Regions from separate parts of the Homo sapiens genome. Here regions 2, 3 and 4 are each linked to region 1. Evidence: promoter capture Hi-C in human tissues and cell types (Jung and others, 2019). All regions are on one chromosome and are shown on one strand. The core of a region is centred on a gene start or on the middle of the fragment in contact, and the rest is flanking DNA. Distances in the headings are between cores, read along the strand shown.

Region 1 (5,693 bases), core at 917-3,416:
ACTTGAGGTTGTGTTTTTCTTTGAGACAGAATCTCACTCTCTCGCCCAGGCTGGAGTGCAGTGGCGCGATCTCGGCACACTGCAACCTCTGCCTCCCGGGTTCAAGCAATTCTCCTGTCTCAGCCTTCTGAGTAGCTGGGATTACAGGCGCCTGCCACCATGCCCGACTAATTTTTTTTGTATTTTTAGTAGAGACGGGGTTTCACCATGTTGGCTAGGCTGGAGGCTGTGTTTTTCTGATCCCCAAACCAGGTCACAGTTTTGTCTAGGTCATGGGAAACTGAAGTCAATGGTCCTTCCAATTATAGTTGAGATCACCTCCAAGCCTGTTCACAGGTGGCTATGAACACCCAGCTGTCCTAGGTAGAGTGAATGACTGATGCTAGAAGGACTTATAGAAGTGCTTCTCGGCCAGGTGCTATGGCTCACGCCTGTAATCCCAACACTTTGGGAGGCTGAGGCAGGGGGATCACTTGAGGTCAGGAGTTTCAGACCAGCTTGGGCAATATGGTGAAACCCCATCTCTACTAAAAATACAAAAATTAGCTGGGCGTGGTGGCGCATGCCTGTAGTGTCAGCTACTTTGGAGGCAGAAGCAGGAAAATCGCTTGAACCCAGGAGGCAGAGGTTGCAGTGAGTCATCGCACCACTGCACTCCAGCCTGGGCAACAGAGCGAGCCTCTGCCTTAAAACAAAACAAAACAAAATAATAATAACGAAAACATACTGAGCCCTCATCAGAGATGGCATTAGGCAAAAATGCCAATGAATTGCCTCTTTTAATCCTCACAGCAATTTTGTAGCAAAGACACAATTATTTTATTTTACAGTTGAAACAAGCTCAAGGACATTATCCGAGAGGCTGAGCTAGGATTTAAATCGGGCTATTTAGATTCCACGCTTGTGCCTTTAACCACCACAAAACTGCCTCTATAAATGCTAAAGAAAAGAAAAGAAAAGAAAAGCATATACTCCATAAATTGTAAGTTCCTTAAAGGTTGGGGTCTTTTTTTTTTTTTCTTTTTGAGACGGAGTTTCGCTCTTGTTGCCCAGGCTGGTGTGCAATGGCGCGATCTCGGCTCACCGCAACCTCTGCCTCCTGGGTTCAAGCGATTCTCCTGCCTCAGAGGCCTCCCGAGTAGCTGGGATTACAGGCATGCGACACCACGCCCAGTTAATTTTGTATTTTTAGCAGACACGGGGTTTCTCCATGTTGGTCAGGCTGGTCTCGAACTCCCGACCTCAGGTGATCCGCCCGCCTAGGCCTCCCAAAGTGCTGGGATTACAGGCGTGAGCCACCGCGCCCGGCCAGGTTGGGTTCTTTTTTGAGTCACCCTGCCCAGGCCTTTAATTTCATTCAGCAAAGTATTGCACATGTACATCCTTGCACTGTTCGGGTGCAAGGATCCAATGGAGGGCAAGACAAGCAGGATCCCTGTCAACAGGGCGCTTACAATCTGGGGAGAGGCAGCGCACAGTCAGAATGCAGTGTGGCCAGAGTTACCTACAGAGTATTTGAGGCGCACAGAACGGCATCCCAATCCGGAAAGTCAGGTGGTCAAGATTTTAGGAGCAAATATTTTAGGAGCTGGAACTCTAATAGTAGGGGGAGCGAATTTTCCAAGAATGAGGTGCAGAAGGTGTGAAAAATCCTGGGGTGATTAAGCTGCCGATAGCGCACACAGGTCTGCAGGCAGGCCCTCCCAGCGTCCCCAGCATCCACAAGGGCGCCGGCAAGGCTCGCCCAGCGCCCGGGGAAAACGCCGGCGGGTCCCGAGTTCCCCGGGCGGTGGCTGCAGCCCCTGCTCCAGTCGCCCCGCACCTGTCTTCTCCCCGAAATACTCTCGGTAGGTCCGCCACCAGTGCGGGGCCTGCGCCTCCTGCTCTGCTCGGCGCCGGTAGCGGTCGAAGCTCCGGTACTTCTCCAGCCGCTCCAGGTTGCTCAAGTCGATGTCACTGTTGGGCATCGGCCCCAGCGGGGGTGTCCGGCGGCCCAGGACGGCTGCGGGCAGAGAGAAGACGTAAGGCCGGCGCCCCACAGCTCGGGCGACAGCCCCCCCCCCCCCCCCCGCAGAGCTGCCCACCCCTCACCCGAGGTGCTGAAGCCCCGCCATCTCCGACACTCGCACAGCGCGGCTCGCCACCAGGGCGCCGCCATCTTCCCTCCGGCCTGCGACACTGCGGCCGCCACTAGGACCCGGGCACAGGTGGCCAGCGCGGTGCCTGAGCGCACCACAGCAGGCCCCGCCCCTAGGCCCGCCCCCGGGCCCGCGCTGCGGAGCAGGCCTCAGACGCCTGTCCCGGAGGCCCCTGCACCGTCTGCCTCGGGCGCAGGTGGAAGGTGGCCGCGGTCTGTAGACGCCCGGCTCCGGAAGTGCCCGTTGGACGGCGGGGCGGAGCCGAGAGCAGTCATATGCTCGCCCATGGCTGGCCACCAGGGGGCGGCACAGACCGGGGTCGGCCGCCGGGGCCCTCCTCCAACCCCTGGACGCTGCGTCCTGATTTCCCCAGGGACGCAGGCCTGGTTGGGAGAAGGGGTGCGAGCTCCGATTCCGGACTCTGCTTGGGTTTAAAACCCAGATTGAGGGCTGGGCGCGGTGGCTCACGCCGGGAATCCCAGCACTTTGGGAGGCCAAGGCGGGTGGATCACGAAGTCAGGAGATCGAGACCATCCTGGCCAACACGGTGAAAACCCGTCTCTACTCAAAATACAAAAATTAGCCGGGCGTGGCATACGCCTGTAATCCCAGCTACTCGGGAGGCTGAGGGAGGAGACTCGCTTGAACCTGGGAGGCAGAGGCGGAGGCTGCAGTGAGCCGAGATCGCGCCACTGCACTCCAGCATGGGCGACAAAAGTGAAAACTCTATTTCAATAATAATAATAATAATAAAATAATAGTAATAAAAACCCAGATTGTGGCTGGGCGCGGTGGCTCATACCTGTAATCCCAGCACTTTGGGAGGCCGAGGTGGGCGGATCATCTGAGGTAATTAGTTTGAGACCAGCCCTACGAACATGGCAAAACCCTAAAGATACAAAAATTTTTGTATCTCTACTAATGATACAAAAATTAGCCGGGCGTGGTGGCAGGCGCCTGTAATCCCAGCTACTCAGGAGGCTATGGCACAAGAATTAACTTGAACCCGGGAGGCAGAAGCTGCAGTGAGACGAGATTGCGCCACCACCTCGGTGCCAGAGTGAGACACCGTCTCAAAATGCCCCTCCCCCCCCCCAAAAAAAAACCAGATCGTGACCTTACTGTCTTCCTTGTGGTTTCCTCATTTGGGAAAAAGCAGGTTAACACTAGTGCTTACCTGACAGCTGTCAGGATGAAAAGATTACCCTCTGGAAAGCGCTCGCAGTGGTTTGTGTGTTAGCTCAACTATCTCCAACTTCTCATTATCCACACAAAGGCAGAAGTGACCTGGTTAAGTGCAGATGTGAATGTTTCTGGCAGGACTCAGGCTTGCCCTTGTGATCCAGTTCTACCATGGCAAAACTTGGTAGCCTGGGGAATCTGGGACCCTCCTTTGCCCCAGCCCTGGCCCTCCTGCCCTAAAAGGCAAGACTTTTCCATCGCACTTTGCCTCCAGGCCACGGGGCCTTTGTATACGCTGTGTCTTCTGCCTCTCACCTCCTCACTGCCCCACCTTGGCCTGGCCACCACCCAGCCCCAGGAGAGGGGTCTCTCCAGGAAGCCTGCTCTGACATCCCAGGCCAGGGCTGGTGGTGACCAGGCCAGTGGCTCTGGCACCAGCAGAAGCTTGACCCTCACAATCACTTTGAGATGGAATGAGAATGGAATGAGGGTCTCTCCATCCAGCAGGAAGTGGCCACACCTTCCACTGGTTTTCATAAACAGCAGCCAAACAGCTAAACCTTTCACAGTCATTTCTAATCCACCCAGCAGTGTGCACCTGCTACATGCTAAGTGTGGAGGGGAATACGTGGGGCAGTCACACCCAGTCCTGCTCGTAAGGAGTTGCTTATTGTGACATTCCATACTGCAGTTATGCAGTACAGGAGCATAACTGGATTGTGTGTTTACATCGTGGCTGTTTTACCTTGTCCTTTTTTTTTTTTTTTTTGAGATGGAGTTTCTGTCGCCCAGGCTGGAGTGTAGGGGCACGACCTCGACTCACTGCAACTTCCGCCTCCCAGGTTCAAGTGATTCTCCTGCCTCAGCCTCCCGAGTAGCTGGGATTACAGGCATGCACCACCACGCCTGGCTAATTTTTTGTATTTTTAGTAGAGACTTGGTTTCACCATATTGGCCAAGCTGGTCTCAAACTACTGACCTCAGGTGACCCACCCACCTCGGCCTCCCAAAGTGCTGGGATTACAGGTGTGAGCCACTGCACCCGGCCACCTTGTCCTTTTGTTTCTGAATCATTTTCTTCAGCCTCTAAACCCACCCGCTCTACCCCACGACCCTCCCAGCCCTCTCCAGATGAAGATGTATGGGGCCTTGGCAGTTGGCGTGGAAGCTGCTGGCCACCCAGGTGGCGGTGCATTCCTCCATTCTTGTCCTCTTGCTGTCCTAGAACCCTGATTGGCGCTTGCTTGGATATTAACAGTTTGAGAGAGGCTTCACGTGGATTCCCACGTGTACCAACTTGAAGCAAATAACGATGAATATCTTGAAACTAGAAGCAGTGGCTCTACCATTTTAAAAAAATATATGGGGGTCTCACTATGTTGCCCAGGCTGGTCTTGAACTCCTGGGCTCAAGCCATCCTCCCACCTTGGCCTCCTGATAGCAGCTACAGGTGTGTACCACTGCACCAGTTTTTTTTTTTTTTTTTTTTTTTTTTTTTGAGACAGAGTCTTGCTCTGTCGCCCAGGCTGGAGTGTAGTGGCCTGATCTCGGCTCACTGCAAGCTCCGCTTCCCAGGTTCATGCCATTTTCCTGCCTCAGCCTCCCAAGTAGCTGGGACTACAGGCGCCCGCCACCACGCCCGGCTAATTTTTTGTATTTTTAGTAGAGACGGGGTTTCACCGTGTTAGCCAGGATGGTCTCGATCTCCTGACCTCGTGATCCGCCCGCCTCGGCCTCCCAAAGTGCTGGGATTACAGGCGTGAGCCACTGCGCCCGGCACCTGCACCAGTATGTTTTACCCATTACATTCCACCAATATTTCTTTTTCTTTTTTTTCTTTTTTTTTTTTTTTAGACAAAATCTCACTCTGTCACCCAGGCTGAAGGGCAGTGACACAATCTCGGCTCACTGCAACCTCTCCCTCCTGGGTTCAAGCGATTCTCCTGCCTCAGCCTCCCAAGTAGCTGGGACTACAGGCCACACGCCACCACGCCCGGCTAATTTTTGTATTTTCAGTAGAGACGGGGTTTCACCACGTTGGTCAGGCTGGTCTCGAACTCCTGACCTCAGGTAATCCACCCACCTTGGCCTGCCAAAATGCTGGGATTACAGACGTGAGCCACCGCGCCCGGCCGCAATATTTCTCTCTCTAAAAGGAACTGAATGAAGCACTTGGGTTATGATCTTGTTTACAATTTTGAAGGAAAAAAAGAGCTGCAGCTACACAACACTCATTTCTGTACTCAGCCCTCTCCAGTGTCTGTGGCCTGGGAGAAGGCTGAAGGGGATAATTAGGATGCCTGCCACACCCTCATGGCGGTGACAGGAATGCTGAGTGCTTACACTGAGTAAAGTGCCATTATAACTGAGTGC
Region 2 (5,693 bases), core at 915-3,414, 790 kb after region 1:
TGGGAGGCCGAGGCAGGTGCGTCGCTTGAGCCCAAGAGGTTGAGGCTGTAGTAAGCCATGGGGGTGCCACTGCATTCCAGCCTGGGCAAGAGTAAGACCCTGTCACCAAAAGAAAAAAAAAATTGTACTTGACTTTGGAAGTCTGATTTTTTCTTTTTTTTTTTTTGAGACAGTTTCACTCTTGTTGCCCAGGTTGGAGTGCAATGGTACGATCTTGCCTCACTGCAGCCTCCACCTCCCAGGTTCAAGCGACTCTCCTGCCTCAGCCTCCCGAGTAGCTGGGACTATGGGCATGTGCCACCACACCTGGCTAATTTTGTATTTTTAGTAGAGATGGGGTTTCTCCATGTTGGTCAGGCTGGTCTCGAACTCCCGACCTCAGGTGATCCGCCCGTCTCGGCCTCCCAAACTGCTGGGATTACAGGTGTGGGCCACCGCGCCCGGCCTGGAAGTCTGATTTTTAAAAAGCTGTGGTCATGACCCATTGATGGGTCAGGAAAGCAAATGAGAAGGCCTTACTAGTATTGTTAAAAAAAAAAAAAAATGGGCGACCAAAGTCTTGGTGAAGTTTGAGGCTTTAATAACTTCAGAAGTATAGATACTACAAATGTACCAAAAAATGACATTTGAAAGGTTATTTACATTTAAAATACCTTGATATCTCTCACTCAGATTCTTACAGTACCCCCTCTAGTGCTATACATGGCTCTAGTTGTTCAAACTTCGAAAAACCTTTTATCGACTGTTGGTCAGTGACGGGAAAAGATTGCACTGGTGATTCCAGCTTCACCAGGTTCCAAAGAACTGGATTTTGTGCACACGTGACCTCAAGGGAGGTCAATTCAGCCCAGGAAAGGGGTCCTTTGCCTGCCTGTCCCTCCAGACACTAGCACATGCGGAGAATTAAAATGAAAAAATCTAGCACTTGACTGTCAGGAAACTAAGTGGAAAAGAAATTTAAATAAGTAAATATTCAACTGATGTTTTGTAGGTTTGTACATTTAAACATCTGAAGTTATTTATTAAAACTGCACTAAGACTCTGGGGACACCCCTGTATCCCAGAATGAAATAAAAGACAAGGCTGGGCGCGGTGGCTCATGCCTGTAATCCCAGCACTTTGGGAGGCCGAGGCGGATGGATCACGAGGTCATTAGTTCGAGACCAGTCTGGCCAACATGGGGAAATCCCGTCTCTACTAAAAATACAAAAATTAGTTGGGTGTGGTGGTGCACGACTGCTTCAGCTACTTGGGAGGCTGAGGCAGGAGAATCGTTGGACCCTGGGAGGCGGAAGTTGCAATGAGCTGAGATCACGCCACTGCAATCCAGCCTGGGCAACAGACTGGATTTTTTTTTGAGATCTGTCTCAAAAAAAAAAAAAAAAAAGAAAAAGAAATTAAAGACAAACAGTGTTTTGTGTGTGGTAGAGTTAGATACTGGTTTATAAAACTTCTGGGGCCAGGTGAGGTGGCTCACGCCTGTAATCCCAGCACTTTGGGAGGCTGAGGCAAGTGGACTGCTTGAGCCCAGGAGTTTGAGACCGCCCTGGGCAACATGTCAAACCTCATTTCTACAAAAAAATTACAAAAATTAGCTGGGCATGGTGGGATGTGCCTGTAGTCCCAGCTGAGGCTGAGGTGGGAGGATCACTTGAGCCCAGGAGGTCAAGGCTGCAGTGAGCCGAGATCACACCACTACACTCCAGCCTAGGTGAAAGAGTGAAAGCCTGTCTCAAACAAAAGAAAACAAAACAACAACACAACAAAAAACTTCTGGTGTAGCTGTGTGACTTTATATACAGGATGTAATTTAAAATTTCTTTCTTATTGTGACACCTAATTAAAAAAAGCTTGAAAACACTGCTCAATTGGCCATTTATTTTGTTGTCTGTGCAGAAATCCCCTGTTCTTTTGGAAGTTGTCCCTTGAATCCCGTGGCCCCAGTTGGGGCGGTCAAACCCTCCCCCTTCCATCTACTTATCTGGATGGGCGGGGGCATAGGCCCAGGAGCCCAATTTCTGCTTGGGGGACAAGGACCCTCTGGGACCAGAGCAGTGAGCTGCCTAGAGTGGGCCCGGGTGGAGAGACTCGTTGGAGAGCCCCCTCCCCTACCATGTGCTTGTCCTGAGGCCATTCCACCCTGCCTTTCCCTGCCTGAGAACCGCTCCATTCCAACTCCCACAGCCCCTGGACCACGGTGTCCGCCATCCACTGACACCTCTCCTGTCCACCACTCACCACACTCAGACTTTGCAGGCCAAGAACATCTCAAATTTGCCTGCATCAAATCTCAGCTCTGCTGAAGTCAAGGGTTGGATAGCCATGGAATGTTTTTTTGAGTGGTTATCAAACTGCACCTCATAGAGGCATCCCAGGGCCTCACACCTGGGCTTCTACTGGAAATAACATCCTCACTTTTATCTGGGTAACTTGTTAGGCTTTTAAAGAATATACTAATAATAATTGAATGAATTCCAATTATTATTATTGTTATTATTGAGACAGGGTCTTACTGTCACCCAGGCTGTTGGTAGAGTGATGCGATCTCGGCTCACTGCATCCTTGCCCTTCCAGGCTCCGTCAATCCTCCTACCACAGCTTCCCTAGTACCTGGGACTACAGACATGGGCCACGAGGCTTGGCTAATTTGTGTATTTTTGGTATAGATGAGGTTTTGCCATGTTGCCCAGGCTGGGCTTGAACTCCTGGGCCCAAGGGATCTGCCTGCCTCAGCCTCCCTGCTTCTGGCTGTGGTGTTTTACTTTTTTAAAAAATAACGGGGGCCGGGGGCCTGTAATCCCAGCACTTTGGGAGGCTGAGGTGGGTGGATCACCTGAGGTCAGCAGTTCGAGACCAGCCTGGACAACATAGTGAAACCCTGGGTCTACTAAAAAATAAAAAAAATTAGCTGGGCATGGTGGCAGGCACCTGTAATCCCAGCTACTTGGGAGGCTGAGTCAGGAGAATCGCTTGAACCCGGGAGGTGGGGGTTGCAGTGAGCCAAGATCAAGCCATTGCACTCCAGCCTGGGCAACAAGAGCGAAACTCCGTCTCAAAAACAAAACAAAACAAAATAAAACAATAAAACCACCAGTGTTGACTGCATTTTGCCCTGATTTTATAAAAGTGTGGACACAACAGAAAAGTGAAAGTGCTGACTCCAGTAGTAAGAAGTGCCGGTTTCAGACACAGTGCAATGGAGACAAAGACACAAACCCTTCTGCAAGGGGTGGCTCTTTAGCTTCAGGTGTGTGTGTGTGTGTGTGTGTGTGCAACGGGATGGGAAGGGATAAAGCAAAACCTTGTGCGAAATACCAGAGCTCCATCGTCTAAGGCTGTGCTCAACAGAGAGCTGGCACTAAGGATTTTACCTTCGTGCCTCCCTCATAGCACGCCCATCTTTCCTTCCGCTTTGGCACAATCAAATTTGCAGCTATGTTTTCAGGAGTGTGCACGGTGGGGGCCTGGAGGAAAGGGAGCTCAGCTGTGTCTGCAGGGAGCAAAGAAGGCCTCAGAGTGGATGAGAAAGCCACGCTGGGTCCGAGATGGGCTTGCCAGGCAGATGTAGAGAGAAGGGCATCTGGGCAGAGTGCACAGCCCATGTAAAGGCATGGAGGCACGGAACACCTCGGCTCTTCCAGTGGCTCTACAGACTTGGGTATGATTGCAGGGTGGGTGTGACACAGTCAGAAATAGTGTGCAGAGGCTGGGTGTTGTGGCTTATGCCTGTAATCCCAGCACTTTGGGAGGTTAAGGCAGGTGGATCATTTGAGGCCAGGAGTTCAAGACCAGCTTGGCCAACACGGTGAGACCCCCTCTCTACTAAAAAAATACAAAAATTAGCTAGGTGTGGTGGCGGGTGCCTGTAATCCCAGCTACTTGGGAGGCTGAGGGAGGAGAATCTCTTGAACCCAGGAGGCGGAGGTTGCAGTAAGCCGAGATCGCACCACTGCACTCCAGCCTGGGTGACAGAGCGTGACTCTATCTCAAAAAGAAAAAAAGAAAGAAAGAAACAGTGTGCAGAAATGCAGGGTCTGCAACCACAGAGATCATATACAGGACACTAAAGCGTTTGGTTTCATTCCTCAGGAAGTGAGAAGCCACCTGAAACTTTCAAACAGGGATAAACAAGGCTGGGCGCGGTGGCTCACACCTGTAATGCCAGTACTTTGGGAGGCCATGGTGGGAGGGCTGCTTGATGCCAGGGGTTTGAGACCAACCTGGGCAATGAAGTGAGACCCCCATCTCTATAAAAAATTAACAAATTAGCCGGGGGTGGTGGCATGTGCTTGTAGCCCCAGATACTTCGGAGGCTGAGGTGGGAGGATCGCTTGAGTCCAGGAGTTTGAGGCTGCAGTGAGCTATGATGATGTTACTGTACTCCAACTGAGTGACAGTGGGAGACCCTGCCTCTAAAAAAATAAATAAAAATAAAAAATAAACAGGTGTCAATACAAATTTTTTAAACGAAAAAAATAAACACGGACAAACAGAGTGAGAGCTGCACTTGGGAGGCTGAGGTGGGAGGATTGCAATGGGGCAAGAGAAGAGGCAGGAGGAACTATGAGAAGAGGGTACAGAGCTCAGGGGAGAGATGATAAAGGCCCAAACTGCGATGCTAAAGGCACCTGGCCTTCAGCTCAGCGTTGAATGAATCCGTGAAGGTGCGGCCAGCCAAAGGCAATCTCTCCAGGGTCTCATGGTCTGAGTCCTCCCCACCATCAGGCAGCTGTGCCATGGTGGGTGCGACCAGGATCATTTCCTGGAGGCGGCACGAACCCAACAGAGTACGCAGCTGATTCTTCCTGAGGTCTCAAAGGAAACGGAACAGAGCAGCTGCTCGAGCGCTGACTCAAACCTCACCCAAGGCCATCATCACCGCGGAGTTCCTGTCCATGCCCTTGGTCCCAGGAGTGTTCAGGCTACTCGGCTCATGGGCTGAACTGTGTTCCACGCCCCAATTCATATGCTGAAGCCTTGGCCCCAACTACCTCTCAGCCTGACTCTATTTGGAAACAGGGCCTTTAAAGAGGTGATTAAGTTAAAATGAAGCCATTAGGGTGGGCCCTAACCCAAGGACTGCTGTCCTTATAAGAGGAAACTCGGACACACACAGAGACATGAGAGTTGTGAGTGCACAGAGGAAAGACCATGTGAGGAGGCGGAGAAGGCGGCCAACTGCAAGCCAGCGAGACAGGGCTTAGGAGGACCCGAACCTGCGGACACCCTGAACTTGGCCCTCCAGTCTGCAGAACTCTGGGAAAAGAAACGTCTGTTGCTGAAGGTGCCCGGTCTGTGGTGTTTTGTTATAGCAGCCCTGGCAAATGAATACATCATGTTTCTGATGAAAGTCAATCAATTTCATGGAAACAGTGAATTGAGACAGGCAGCTGGCGTCACCCTGGCTGGTCCCCAGGGCAGGCTGGGCTGAGCCCAAGCTCCATCACTTCACTGATCAGAGTCTCAGCATTTTATGACTGAATAGAGACCACATTTTAATGTCATGTTCTGGGATAATTTTCTAATTCAGCTTTTCCCTCCAATGGAGGAGGTGGAGGCGGGAGGGGGAAGGCAAACGGGACGTGCCTCCTGACAGCCTCCCCAGTGCTAGGAGCCTAGGACCAGGGTGCCCCGGAGGCCAAGCTGAGGGGCCCGGCCAGGCTGCAGTAGCTGGGAGACACAGTGAACCAAGC
Region 3 (5,693 bases), core at 1,384-3,883, 600 kb after region 1:
GTGTGTGTGTGTGTGTGTGTGTGTGTGTGTGTGTGAGTCTGTGTGTGTCTGTGTGTTTGTGTGTGTCTCTGTGTGTCTGTTTGTGTGTGTCTGTGTGTGTGTGTGGTTACACCAGGTACAGACAGGTAGGAGTCACTGAGGGTTTGTTCGTGGGGCTCTTGGGTGGGGCCTGAGGGTGGGCAACTGGGTTCACACCCGAGCTCCACTGCCGACTTCCTGAACAACTTTGTACAAGCCTGGGTGCTCAGCCCTGTCCCTTGAGAGGCTCACAGCAATGGAGGCCACTTTTGTTTTTTGTGCAAATGAAAAGGTGGGAGTTTCACTTCAGCCTTTTACAGTCAAGAGACCAAAAAAACAAAAACAAAAACAAAACAAAACAAAAAAAACAAAAGCCACCAACACCAACAAAAAGAACCCAAGCTCGAAACCTCCACCAGGGTTCCCAGGCAAGAAGGCTGGGTCCAGAAGTGAACAGGATGGGTATAATGGCTACTGCAAGAAAACAGGGAGGGAGGGCAGCGAGGTGGCCCCAGCTCCTGGGCATGGACGTGGCTGCTTCATCCGATCCTCTCCCACCGTGCCAGCCACCCCTCCTTGTTGCCAGAAAACTGGAAGTACATTCCTCCAGCCCAATACAAACAACTCTGAGTCATCCCTACTGGGGGGCCACCTGGCCTGTGCTTTGATGTCTCCCATCTCTCACCTCTGCTCAGCTAACACCATGGGCAGGGGTGCCTCCACCCCATCAGCAGCTGGGCCCACTCCAGGGCTCGTCAGCTAACCCAGGGTGCCCTCTTTATTGCAGGACAAAAGCAGCCTGGGGACCCCCCAGGAATTAGGAGCCCTGATACTCCTTGGATGTCACTTTCAAAAGGTGTACATAATTGGAGGAGTTAGGTGTGAGTTCAGAAGGGAAAATTCCAGCAGGTCACATGGTATCAGGCAACCATGCCAGCTTCAGCAATCCAGCTTTGGGAAAATCTATGGGAAGAGAGCTCGCCCTCTGCCCACCCTCCCAGCCCAGGGATATTTGAGCTCAAGGGCTGCCTCAGCCCAGCCTTCCTGGGAGATTGCCCTGGGGTTAAGCACCCCAGGCCTGGGCTGCAAGGGGGTCCTCTGTTCCCAACCTCTCCCCCACAGCACCTAGACCAGCTTCCTGCAGGGCCAGTGGAGATTGGGAAAGGCGGTGTCTCATGGCACCAAAGGAAGACTCTTGTGAGGGGAATAAGTGCCCTCACACTGCCTTACCCCTCATCTCATTCAGGTTTATTCCAAGTTCCTCCCCTAACCACTCTGGAAAACTGAGGTAGTTTCCCCAGTGAGGGAGCATCATTGAGAAGGAACCTGATGGACCAGCTGCTGCGCAGGGTTTCTCAGCCTCAGCACAGCCCAACACCTTGGGCTGGATAATTCCTCGTTATGTGGGCTGTTCCGTGCCCTGAAGATGTCTGGTAGCGTCCCTGGCCTCTACCCACTACCTGCCAGTAACAACAACACTCACTTCCCCTCCCAAGTGTGTGACACCCAAAATGACTCCAACATTGCCAAATATCCCATGGCAGGCAAAGTCGCCCCTGGTTGAGAACCACAGCTCTAAAACACGCCTCCCTTTCCACTGCCTGCCCTACGGACAGTGAGGGTCGAATAAGGCAGATGCTGGTCTCATTATATTACCAGCAAATGGCACACACTGGGGGCCTGATGCCAGCCGCCCAGGCAACAGCAGCCTCTCCCCAAGTGGGGTCAGCTCCCCACCGCCTTCTGCTCCTCAGACACACCCGCTGCCACCCTCTCAGTAGCTCCAACCCTAGAGCCCCCTCCGTTAATCTTTCATGGAATGGGGCAGGGCCAAAACCTAGGCTTCCTTTGCGCCCTGGCGTGGGAGTGGGGCGGGGTCTGTACCCTAGGGAACTTATCCGTCTCTATCCCAATGCCCTGGGGGAACATCCGAGGGGCCAAACAGGTAAAAGGCAAGCCCAGGGCCAACCTTCCCCAGCCCCTCCATCCAGAAGTCAGGACTCCTGGGTCCAATTTCTGAGCTCCGGTCCAGCCCTGCTGTGTGAGTCCCTCATCCCCACCCCCGCACCTGTTTCCACCTTGGCTGGCTCAACCAACAAACTTCGGCCCCGGTCCGCCCGGTGCTCACCCGGGAGAAAGTGGAGGGGAGAGAAGGGTCTGAACTGCAGGCACTTCTGGGACGCAGGCGGGACTGCCCTGCGCAGTCTCCTCTCTTCCTCCGGAGGTTTAAATCTCTGCCCAATCGTCTTGCCCCTACATCTGGCGCCCCGTCGCCCAGGGACCCCTTAGGCGTCCTGTCCGAGCCGAGCCCTAGGGGCCAGCAGACCGGGTCCAGCGGCCCCGCCGGCGCCGTCTGAGCCAGCCCGGGCCTCCAGCCGAGCCCACGTGGGACCCAGGCGCTCCGCAGGGCGGGCACCGGGCACTGGGCACCCTTCCTGGCCGCGCACCACCGCTCCAGGGCAGGCTCGGGCACAACCTCGGGACCCTTCCGGCGCCTGCGGCTGGGCGGCCGTGAGTCCTGCCCCGCTCGTCGCCCCGCGCTCACCTCCCTGCGGCCCCAAGTCCCCGGGACGCAACTCCGTGCGGCGCCTGCGAGCGGCTGGGCGGTGGCTCCTCGGGGGCGGGGCGGCGGCGCTCCGCCTCTTCCCTACCTGCGCGCGGGCGGCCGGGAGGCGGGGCTGGGCTCCAGGGGGCGTGGCCGGGCTCATGGGGGCGGGGCCTGGACGCAGTCTTTGCTCAGTCGGCTTCCTGGGTTCCTGCCTCCGCCCTCCACCCAGCTGGGTCCCCGCCTGGGCAGAGCCCTGTTTTCGCCTGAGCTGGTCTCTTCAGGGCGCCGTCCTTTCCCTCTTGGCGTCCTCACTCCACCCCAGACCAAACACGTCATCTAGGTCTTGATTGCCGTCTTCAAGTCGCCCCTCCCCATCAAGAAAAAGCACCCAATCTCCCATCCCCTTCTTCCAGCGCCCTCATCCTCAGGCCAAGTGGGCCTGTTCCCTTGACCCTTTTAGTCTGTAGTCACACTCTCTCCGGGAAGCTGGGCCTGAACACCTCCTCTCCCTCCTGGACCCTGAGGCCTCTCTCCTAGCTCTGCTGTGCCCTTGGGTTGGGAACAGGCACTCCGTGGAGGTCCTATCTGCATTTGCCCTGCAGCTAAGGCCAACATTTGTGACTCCTGCCAACCCCCTACACACCCCGTAGAAGCATTGACAGAACCCACCCAGCTCTGGCCCTTCCAGCTGCCATGCGGGCCAGAGCCAGACTGGAGATTGGGGACGCTGGCGACACCTGGCCCCTTGGCTTGGGTCTGTCTGCCCAGGTGGTTCCTTCTCTCTTCCCTGGACTCCAAGGGCCTGCCTCTTGGGACTAGACAAACAAAACCTTGGCCAGGGCAGCTAGGACCGAACTCCAAGGTCTGGATGCCCCGTTCTCAGCCCCAGCGCTTATCATCTCGCCGTCCCTCTCCAGGAGGCCTGGCTAGGCCAGGAGGAGCAGAGTTTGAAGAGACTCAGGCTTGGAGGGGTGGGGGTGGGGTTGTCAGGGCCAAGGCAAAACCTCTGGCCCTTAGAGAGCTCCTGAGCCACCCTGCCCCCCAACCCAAGGACTCTGGTGTTTATTGCTGACCTGGGTGGAGGTGGGGAGCACCTGGCTGCTGGAGATTATCCTGAGAGATGCATCTCTCCTCCCCAGCTCTGGGGCCATGAGGAGGGCACAGGCTGGAAGGAGGGGGAGTGGGCCAAAGCTGGGGTGGGGGTTGCTCCTAGTAACAAATGTAAGGGACCATTTATTGTGCAACCAGCACATCCTGGGGTTATGTGCAGAGAGGAACAAAACCAGGGCCTGCCCACGAAGTGCCAGCATTCTACAGGGAGACGTTGGAACTCAATACTGTAACAGGAAGGGTGAGAGCAGCTAGCCATTCCAAAGTGCTTTAGTCTGTATAATCCGCAGTACAGGTCTATGAAGTGGGTACCATTATGATCATCCCCATTTTAGGGATGAGAAAACTGAGGCAGAGGGAGATGTGAGGGGAGCAGCTGGGGTTTAAACTCGGTCATGATCTGACTTTAGACTCTAACAAACACTGCTGCAAATGCCTGAGCTGGGTTCTCTCTCCTGGAGCTCTACTGGAAGCTCTGCAGGAGTCCCCAGGAGGGGAGGGATTCATGGTGGTGCTTAAGCTGGTGTCAGGGATTTGTCCCATGCAAACATGGCGTGCTGCCCGGCCACATAGGTGCAGGGAGGCTGATTACAGCCTTGGCTGCAGCAACACGCACCTGTGAGGCCAGAGAGGGAAGAATGTTAAATAGGCCAGGGGTATAACTTGTGATAATGTCACACAGCTGTTAAAAGCAACGAGGCAGCTATCCATGTACTGAGAAAGGAATTATCTCCAACTTATAGTAAGTTAAAAAAAAAAAAGCAAGCTGCATGTTTAGTATAATCCTATTTACCTAAATTTAAATAGAACAGACATATATATGTTGGTAGATCCATACAAACTTTCTGGAAGGATATCTGTGGAGTAACCCTGCAGGGGTTTAGGGGGAGAGAGTCACTTGCTTTTCATTTTGTATCATGTGCATATATTACTTACATAACTTAAAGAGAAACACTGTCTAAACTCTTTGTTTTTGTTTTGAGACAAGGTTTTGGTGTCACCCAGGCTGGAGTACAGTATACTCATGGCTTATTGCAGCCTCGACCTCTGGGGCTCAAGTGATCCTCCCACTTCAGCCTCCTGAGTAGCTGGGACTATAGGTGCACGCCATCCTTTCTGGCTAACTAAATTTTTTTTTTGTAGAGATGGTGGTGGGCGGTGGGGGGGGGCCTCACTACGTCGCTCAGGCTGGCCTCAAACTCCTGGATTCAAGTGATCCTGCTTTGGCCTCCAAAATCGGTGGGATTACACTTTACATATTTTACTTTTATAACTTAAAGAAAAACACTGTTGGCCGGGCGCAGTGGCTCACTCCTGTAATACCAGCATTTTGGGAGGCCGAGGCGGGCAGATCACCTGAGGTCGGGAGTTCGAGACCAGCCTGGCCAACATGGAGAAACCCCATCTCTACTAAAAATACAAAATTAGCCAGGCGTGGTGGCACATGCCTGTAATCCCAGCTACTCGGGAGGCTGAGGCAGGAGAATCGCTTGAACCCGGGAGGCAGAGGTTGCAGTGAGCTGAGATTGCACCATTGCACTCCAGCCTAAGCAATAAGAGGGAAACTCTGTCTCAAAAAAAAAAAAAAAAAAAAAAGGAAAAGAAAAAGAAAGAATAAGTGAAAAACACCGTCTAAGCTTTTTTATTTTTATGGACCTACAGGTGTAGGGAAGATCTTCACAGATTGGGATAAGGAAAGGGATTTCTAGTGGGAAGAACAAGAACGAAGACACAGCCGGGAAACTGGCTGTGGTGGGGAAGCTTCTGGTGCTATGGCTTGGCTACATCGCAGGCTGTGTGAGGAGGAGGACAGGAGAAGCCTGGGGAGGCAGCGGGGGCTCAGGGTGGAGGCTGCTGTGTGTCTGGATAAGGGTTTTTACTTTCTTCTGTAAGCAAGGGGGAGCCCATGAGGCATTCTTCAACTAGGAAATTGCACCCTCATATTTTCTGCTTGTGTCCCCTCCTTTAAAACATGCTTTCACAGACACTATTTCATTTATTATTATTATTTATTTAT
Region 4 (5,693 bases), core at 2,203-4,702, 540 kb after region 1:
CTCCTCTGTCCACACTGCTATTACCGGCAGGACCAGCCACCTGGCCATGCTCATGAGAAGCTTGAGTCTCTGCCACGCTTCCCTCTTCTTACTGCCTTTTGGTAGGTGACCACATGTCTACATCCACTGCTTTTAGAAAAGGTTTTTCTAAAAGCTATAAAACTTAATGGTTTGAGGAGTTATTATTTAATTGAGACAGAGTTTCAGTGGGGAATGATGAAAAGTTCTGGGGGTGGATGGTGGGGATGGTTGCACAACAATGGGAATGTACTTAATGGCACTGAACTGTTTATTTAAAAATGGTTAAAATGGTAAATTTTGTTATGCATATTTTACTACAATTAAAAAAGAAAAACTTAAAGGCTCCTCGTCGCTCTTCTGATCACCTCAAAGCCCTGGCACACTAATGTCCCTACTCCTGCTCTGTCTCCCACCTCCCCCACTACACCCCGGCTCAGCTGTACGTGCAAGGCTGTGAAACACATGCTTTACCTGTTATTCCTCAAACGTCCTTCACACCTTTGCGCCCCATCTGAGAAACCTTCTCCAACCACCTCACCTTTCTCTCTACCTCACTACTCTAATAATTGAAAGCTTTATTACTGTTCTCTTAGGTTCGATAGATTTCAGATTTTACTGGGGGGTTAGGTACTAAGTCAAATTGAACATCATTAAAATTATCCTTGAAAAATCCCTTAAATCCATCAGTAAGACCAACATAACCAGTGTTTCCTCTTGCACTGGAACAGATCACTGCTTCTTCCACTGAATACGGAATGAAGATGTTTGTTCACACTTCCGGGTCATTTTGTGTGAGAAGTCAGCACCTCTAGCACTCCACGCCATGCATGCATAGGTGACGCCATGCACACCGAGGGCACAGAGGACACAACTCATCTGCCCCATAAAATCCTCCTAACTGGCCTCCAGGCTTCCTAGCTCCCCACATTCCACCTTGTAAACTGCCGCCAAATCACCCATTGTAAACTCTGATGTAAGTCCTCTTTATGTAAAAAACAAATCCCAACTCCTGAGTCAGTCATCCAAAGACCTGCACACACACAGCAAGCATGACACCAGTGGCCTTTCCAGGGGCAGCTGACGGCGTGGTTTGGAGGCGCTTGCCTGGCTTTAGCCCAAGCCTTTCTGCTCACTGCCTTAACCTCTCCTCCTCTGTGAAGTAAGAACACCTACTTCACGGGGTTCTCCAGTGACTGTGCCTAGAACGCGGCAGGTGCCAACAAACCTTTGTTGTTATCGTTATTTACAGTCCTGTGCAGCCTCGCCTGCCAGCACTCTCTCACCTGACTTCTTCCACCCCACCTCTAGCTCAGTGGTCCTCAAAATATGGCCCAGGGATCCCTGAAACCCTTTCAGGAGGTCCAAAGTCAAAAATTTTCTATAACAAGACCAAGACGTTATTTGCCTTTTTTCCTCTCATCCTCTCCAAAGTCTGCAGTGGAATTTTCCAGAGGCTACATGATGTGTGATGACGTCACTGCTCTGATGGCCAATAGAATGTATGCCCAGGCATTCTTGGTTTTTAAGTTTGTTTTCTTAAATGGTAGATGTTAATAGAAACAACCCATACAAATAAAAGCTCACAAAGCTAAAAAATTATTGTGGTCCTCAATAATTTTTAAGTTAAAGGAGTTCTGAGGCCTAAGTCTGAAACCACTGAAATGAACTTCCTGCCTCTCTTGCCTTTATGCGCACTGGACTTCCCGCCCAGGACGCCCTGCCCTCCACTGCTGCTATTCCAAGCTCTTATCTTTCAAGAGTGAACTCAAAAGGCACCTCCATGACAGCATCTCCTAATGCTCCCCACCACATCCTTCAGCATCTCAACTGTGTCCTGCAGGTGGAACTAGGCTCTCGCTCCCTTATGTGCATCAGTCATTCACCCACTAATTCCACTCATTCGCATGTGTGCAATCTGCCATTTCCCAAGTGCTCACTAAACAAATCTCTCCTAGCACCTACTTTGGGCCAGTCACTGAGGATATAGCAGTGACAGAGATGCTTCTGTGCTTCTCTTACCTTCCGGCTGGGGACAGTAAACAGGACATGAAGTAGTATAATCTCAGGTAATGCCAGGTGCTATGAGGGAAAAAAGCTGAGTAGGAGATCACAGCGATGGTTCTCTCTCCTATCTAAGTCTCTGAAGCAGTGCTACCCAATCCAGTAGCCACTATGGTAAAAAGAACGCACAGTCTCTCATTAGTACTTATCATATGAGTTATATGTTGATATAATATTTTGAATACATTGGGTTAAGTAAAATATATTAAAATTAATTTCATCTCTTTGTTTTTTTTACTTTGAGACAGGGTCTTGCTCTGTTGCCTAGGCTTAAGGGCAATGGGTCGCACGATCACGGCCCATTGCCACCTCGACCGCCAGGACTCAAGCGATCCTCTCACCTCAGCCTACTGAGTAGTTGGGACTACAGGCGTAAGCTGCCACGCTAAGATGATTTCTGTACTTTTTGAAGAGATGGGGTTTCATCATGTTGCCCAGGCTGGTCTCGAACTCCTGGCCTCAAGTGATCCGCCTGGCTTGGCCTCCCAAAGTGTTGGGATTATAGCCATGAGCCACCATGCCTGGCCTCTATTTACTTTTTTCAGCTGTGGCTCACATTGTATCTCTATTTTTCAGGATCCTTCCAGAGCAGAGGTGGGAAAACTACAGCCTGCAGGTCATGTCCAGCCTACTGCCTGTTTCTTAAAATTTTATTGGAACATGACCATGCCCATTCATTTGCTTACTGCCTCTGAATGCTTTTGTGCTATAATGGCAAAGCTGAGTTGTTGTGAAGGAGACAGTATAGCCTGCAACACTAGGACATTTATCATCTGGCCCTTTACAGAAAGTTTGGCTGGCCCCTTATCTAGAGGGCAGGGCCTGTGTGGGGGTATCTCTCTCCCCACAGCACCCAGCACAGTGCAGGGGGCACCCGTGTAGTCAGTGAAGAGAACCTGCATTCGGGCAGCACAAACTGGCCTAAGTTTGAATTTGGGTTGGCCTCCCACTTGCTATGTGGCCTTGGTGAGTTATAAGCTTTCTCTGGGTTTCAGTCTTTCCTTTTCTAAAATGGGGCACTGGCCACTTTAAGGGAAGTGAGATGACACAGGTAAAGTGTGAGTTAACATGCCTGGCTCACAGCAGGAATCCATTGACACTGGCTGGATAAAAGACAGCAATTTCATTAAAATGCTGAATAATCATTCTCCTCTTGGATTGGGTGTGTTATACTCAAAACAACTACCATATTTACATCCTAAAATGAAATGAAATCAAATGAAACTTCTTAGCAACAGCAGTGCATTAATAATAACCACCAGCAAGCAATGGGGAGGAAGAAAGAGGCAAGCCTTTCTAACACTAAAGCACTGGCGGATGATGAGTCCGCCTCATCCCTTTCCTGCCCCTCCTGCAGCCCACCTTTGGACAATTCCCGGTTCATTAACACTGGCACTAGAAGAATAAGCAGAGGGGAGAGAAAAAGCCTCGAACCAAAGACGTACTAAAACTGAACCCATTGACATCAACGAGGTTTGGAAGGGCCCATATAAGTGCAATTCAAAAGACAGTCCCAGCCAGCAGCATCAATGTCACTGGGAGTTTGTTAGACACGCAGATTCTTCAGCCCAATGGAATTAGGACAATTTGCATTAGGAGACCCTAGGTGATGGCATGTGGCATTCACCTTGGAAAAGTGCTGGATTAGAATCCATTTATTCATGCTCTCTTCACTTCCCCCTCCCCCTCCACTGATAAACAGGGGTGGTTATATCTACTTTCAATAGATGGTTCCTGACTCCTTCAAAGTAATAGGCCTGGCATAGCCACTGCAACTCCAGGCCCCGCCCCCAAGGGTCTTGGTGCAGGCAGAGTGCATAGCCTAAGCTGCGTTCCTGATTCATTTGCAGTCGGGTGGGGCATTCTTTTTCCAATAGAGAGCCTCGTTCGTACTTAGCCATCCTCCTAAGGTGAGGACTGGGTGCTGATAACCATTCAGGAAACCCACGTGTGTGGAATCTGCCATTTGTCAAGTGCTTTAGGCGGGGTTCTTACAGGGGAAATGCAGCCAGAAGCAGCTTCATTTCGACCACAGGTGACACCAGCTCTAGCTAGCTCTAGCCTAGTCCACAATGCACGTAGTCTGCCTGGGGAGCCCGCGACGGAAGTTGCCAAAGTAGTAACTACAATATGGTGTATTCTGATTAATCTGCTCTTCCTAGTATTAGGATGCCCATACGTCCCAGTCCTGGAGTAATTATTCATAGTACTCTCAAAAGAACCCAACTTGGGCAATAAATTACTGTACATGGTCAACACACCTAGTACGGGGGGTGGGAGACAGAGTGGTCTAGTAAGGGGCCCATACAGCTCCAGCACAGACCACAGGGCATCTGGAAGAAGACTAAGAATACTATTTGTAGTAAGTGGGAGGGAGCAAACTGGTCATTCATGAAGATGTTTCCCAAGAGTCTGCATGTGCGTGATAGCACACAAGCTTTAGGATTTGCTGTCTCTGTTTCTCAAGGAGCTTCCCATCCAGGAGAGAATGTGGGTGTGCCATGGGGCATGAGAGGAAGGGAACGGCACAATTGAGTTGGGGAAAAGCAGTCAGATTGGCTGGAATCAACTGAAGAGGCAGGAGATAGAGCAGGATGTGTAGGTGAGGGGCCCTGAATGACAACCAAGGCATGATCAGAGGCTGGGTCCTGACACAATCCAGGCGATCACTTGGGAGGTCAGCCCTTTGGAGGTCAGTTGGCGGCAGCGCTGTTCACTGGTTGAAGGAGGACTAGAGGCAGGGAGACCAGGGAGAAGGCTACACAGTGCAGGCATGAGGCAAGCAGAGAGCAAACCAGGGTTGTGAAAGGGAAATGCAGGCACAGGATGCAAGAGGCCTCTCAAAGAACTGATGACAAGTTAGAATGAGGGCCAAAGAAGGTAAATTAAAAATGACCCCAAATGCTCTAATTTTGAGAAGATTCAAGCTTAGGTATTTAGGGGTGAAGTGCTATCATGTCTGCCACTAACTTAGCAGGAGTTAGTACCAGACATAATTCAGGAGGAAATATATTTACATAAGCATACAGATAAGGCAAATATGGCAGGATGTTAACAACTGCTGACTCATAATGGTTGGGGGTTAGCAATTACTGGCTTTCAACATTTTGGTATGGTCAATATTTTTTCCTATTAAAAAGTTGGGTCTTGGGTTCAGAACCAAAAACAAAAAAAGTTGGGGAATATATATATATATTTTTTTCCTCGAGAAAGAGTCTCACTCTGTCGCCCAGGCTGGAGTGCCGGGGCACGATCTCGGCTCACTGCAACCTCTGCCTCCTGGGTTCAAGCAATTCTCCTGCCCTAGCCTCCCGAGTAGCTGGGATCACAGGCACCCACCACCACGCATGGCTAATTTTTGCATTTTTAGTAGAGATGGGGTTTCACCATGTTGGCCAGGCTGGTCTCGAACTCCTGACCTCAAGTGATCCACCCACCTCGGCCTCCCAAAATGCTGGGATTACAGGCGTGAGCCACTGTGCCCAGTCAGAACATTTTTTTTTTTTTTAAGTCCACAGACTTGGGGATGGGAAGGGCAGTCACAATCACAAGATTTTATACCCACAAAGTCTACATGGCACAATGGAGCTATCAAGTAAGCAGCTGGGCAT

What was found. Contacts are between HindIII fragments. The study calls those that stand out against the background at their distance.
Region 2: a fragment that was not itself captured here is called in contact with the fragment with the promoter of MRPL38 in region 1 in 1 of the 25 tissues and cell types used here (spleen).
Region 3: the fragment with the promoter of RHBDF2 here is called in contact with the fragment with the promoter of MRPL38 in region 1 in 3 of the 25 tissues and cell types used here (adrenal gland, lymphoblastoid cells and spleen).
Region 4: a contact is called between a fragment that was not itself captured here and the fragment with the promoter of MRPL38 in region 1, in 4 of the 25 tissues and cell types used here (dorsolateral prefrontal cortex, lymphoblastoid cells, small bowel and 1 more).

What each region holds. Positions count from the first base shown.
Region 1 is chr17:75,902,718-75,908,410 of GRCh38, forward strand. MRPL38 (mitochondrial ribosomal protein L38) reads right to left here and starts at 2,167. Exons shown (of 9, transcript NM_032478.4): 1 at 2,092-2,167; 2 at 1,823-2,002. The coding sequence starts at 2,158. RefSeq lists silencers at 1,963-2,012, 2,033-2,082, 2,093-2,572. The HindIII fragment of the contact is 5,940 bases long and covers 1,838-5,693 here.
Region 2 is chr17:76,692,107-76,697,799 of GRCh38, forward strand. The region is part of intron 1 of MXRA7 (matrix remodeling associated 7); the gene reads right to left. Among named protein-coding and RNA genes, the nearest start is that of MXRA7, 16 kb to the right of the region's middle. RefSeq lists enhancers at 5,047-5,600, 5,601-5,693. The HindIII fragment of the contact is 7,367 bases long and covers 1-5,693 here.
Region 3 is chr17:76,498,790-76,504,482 of GRCh38, forward strand. It overlaps RHBDF2 (rhomboid 5 homolog 2), which reads right to left and starts at 2,634. Exons shown (of 19, transcript NM_001005498.4): 1 at 2,564-2,634. RefSeq lists enhancers at 1,892-2,561, 2,912-3,051 and a silencer at 2,222-2,861. The HindIII fragment of the contact is 32,589 bases long and covers 1-5,693 here.
Region 4 is chr17:76,438,019-76,443,711 of GRCh38, forward strand. The region is part of intron 1 of UBE2O (ubiquitin conjugating enzyme E2 O); the gene reads right to left. Among named protein-coding and RNA genes, the nearest start is that of UBE2O, 12 kb to the right of the region's middle. RefSeq lists enhancers at 3,033-3,550, 4,975-5,094. The HindIII fragment of the contact is 6,251 bases long and covers 328-5,693 here.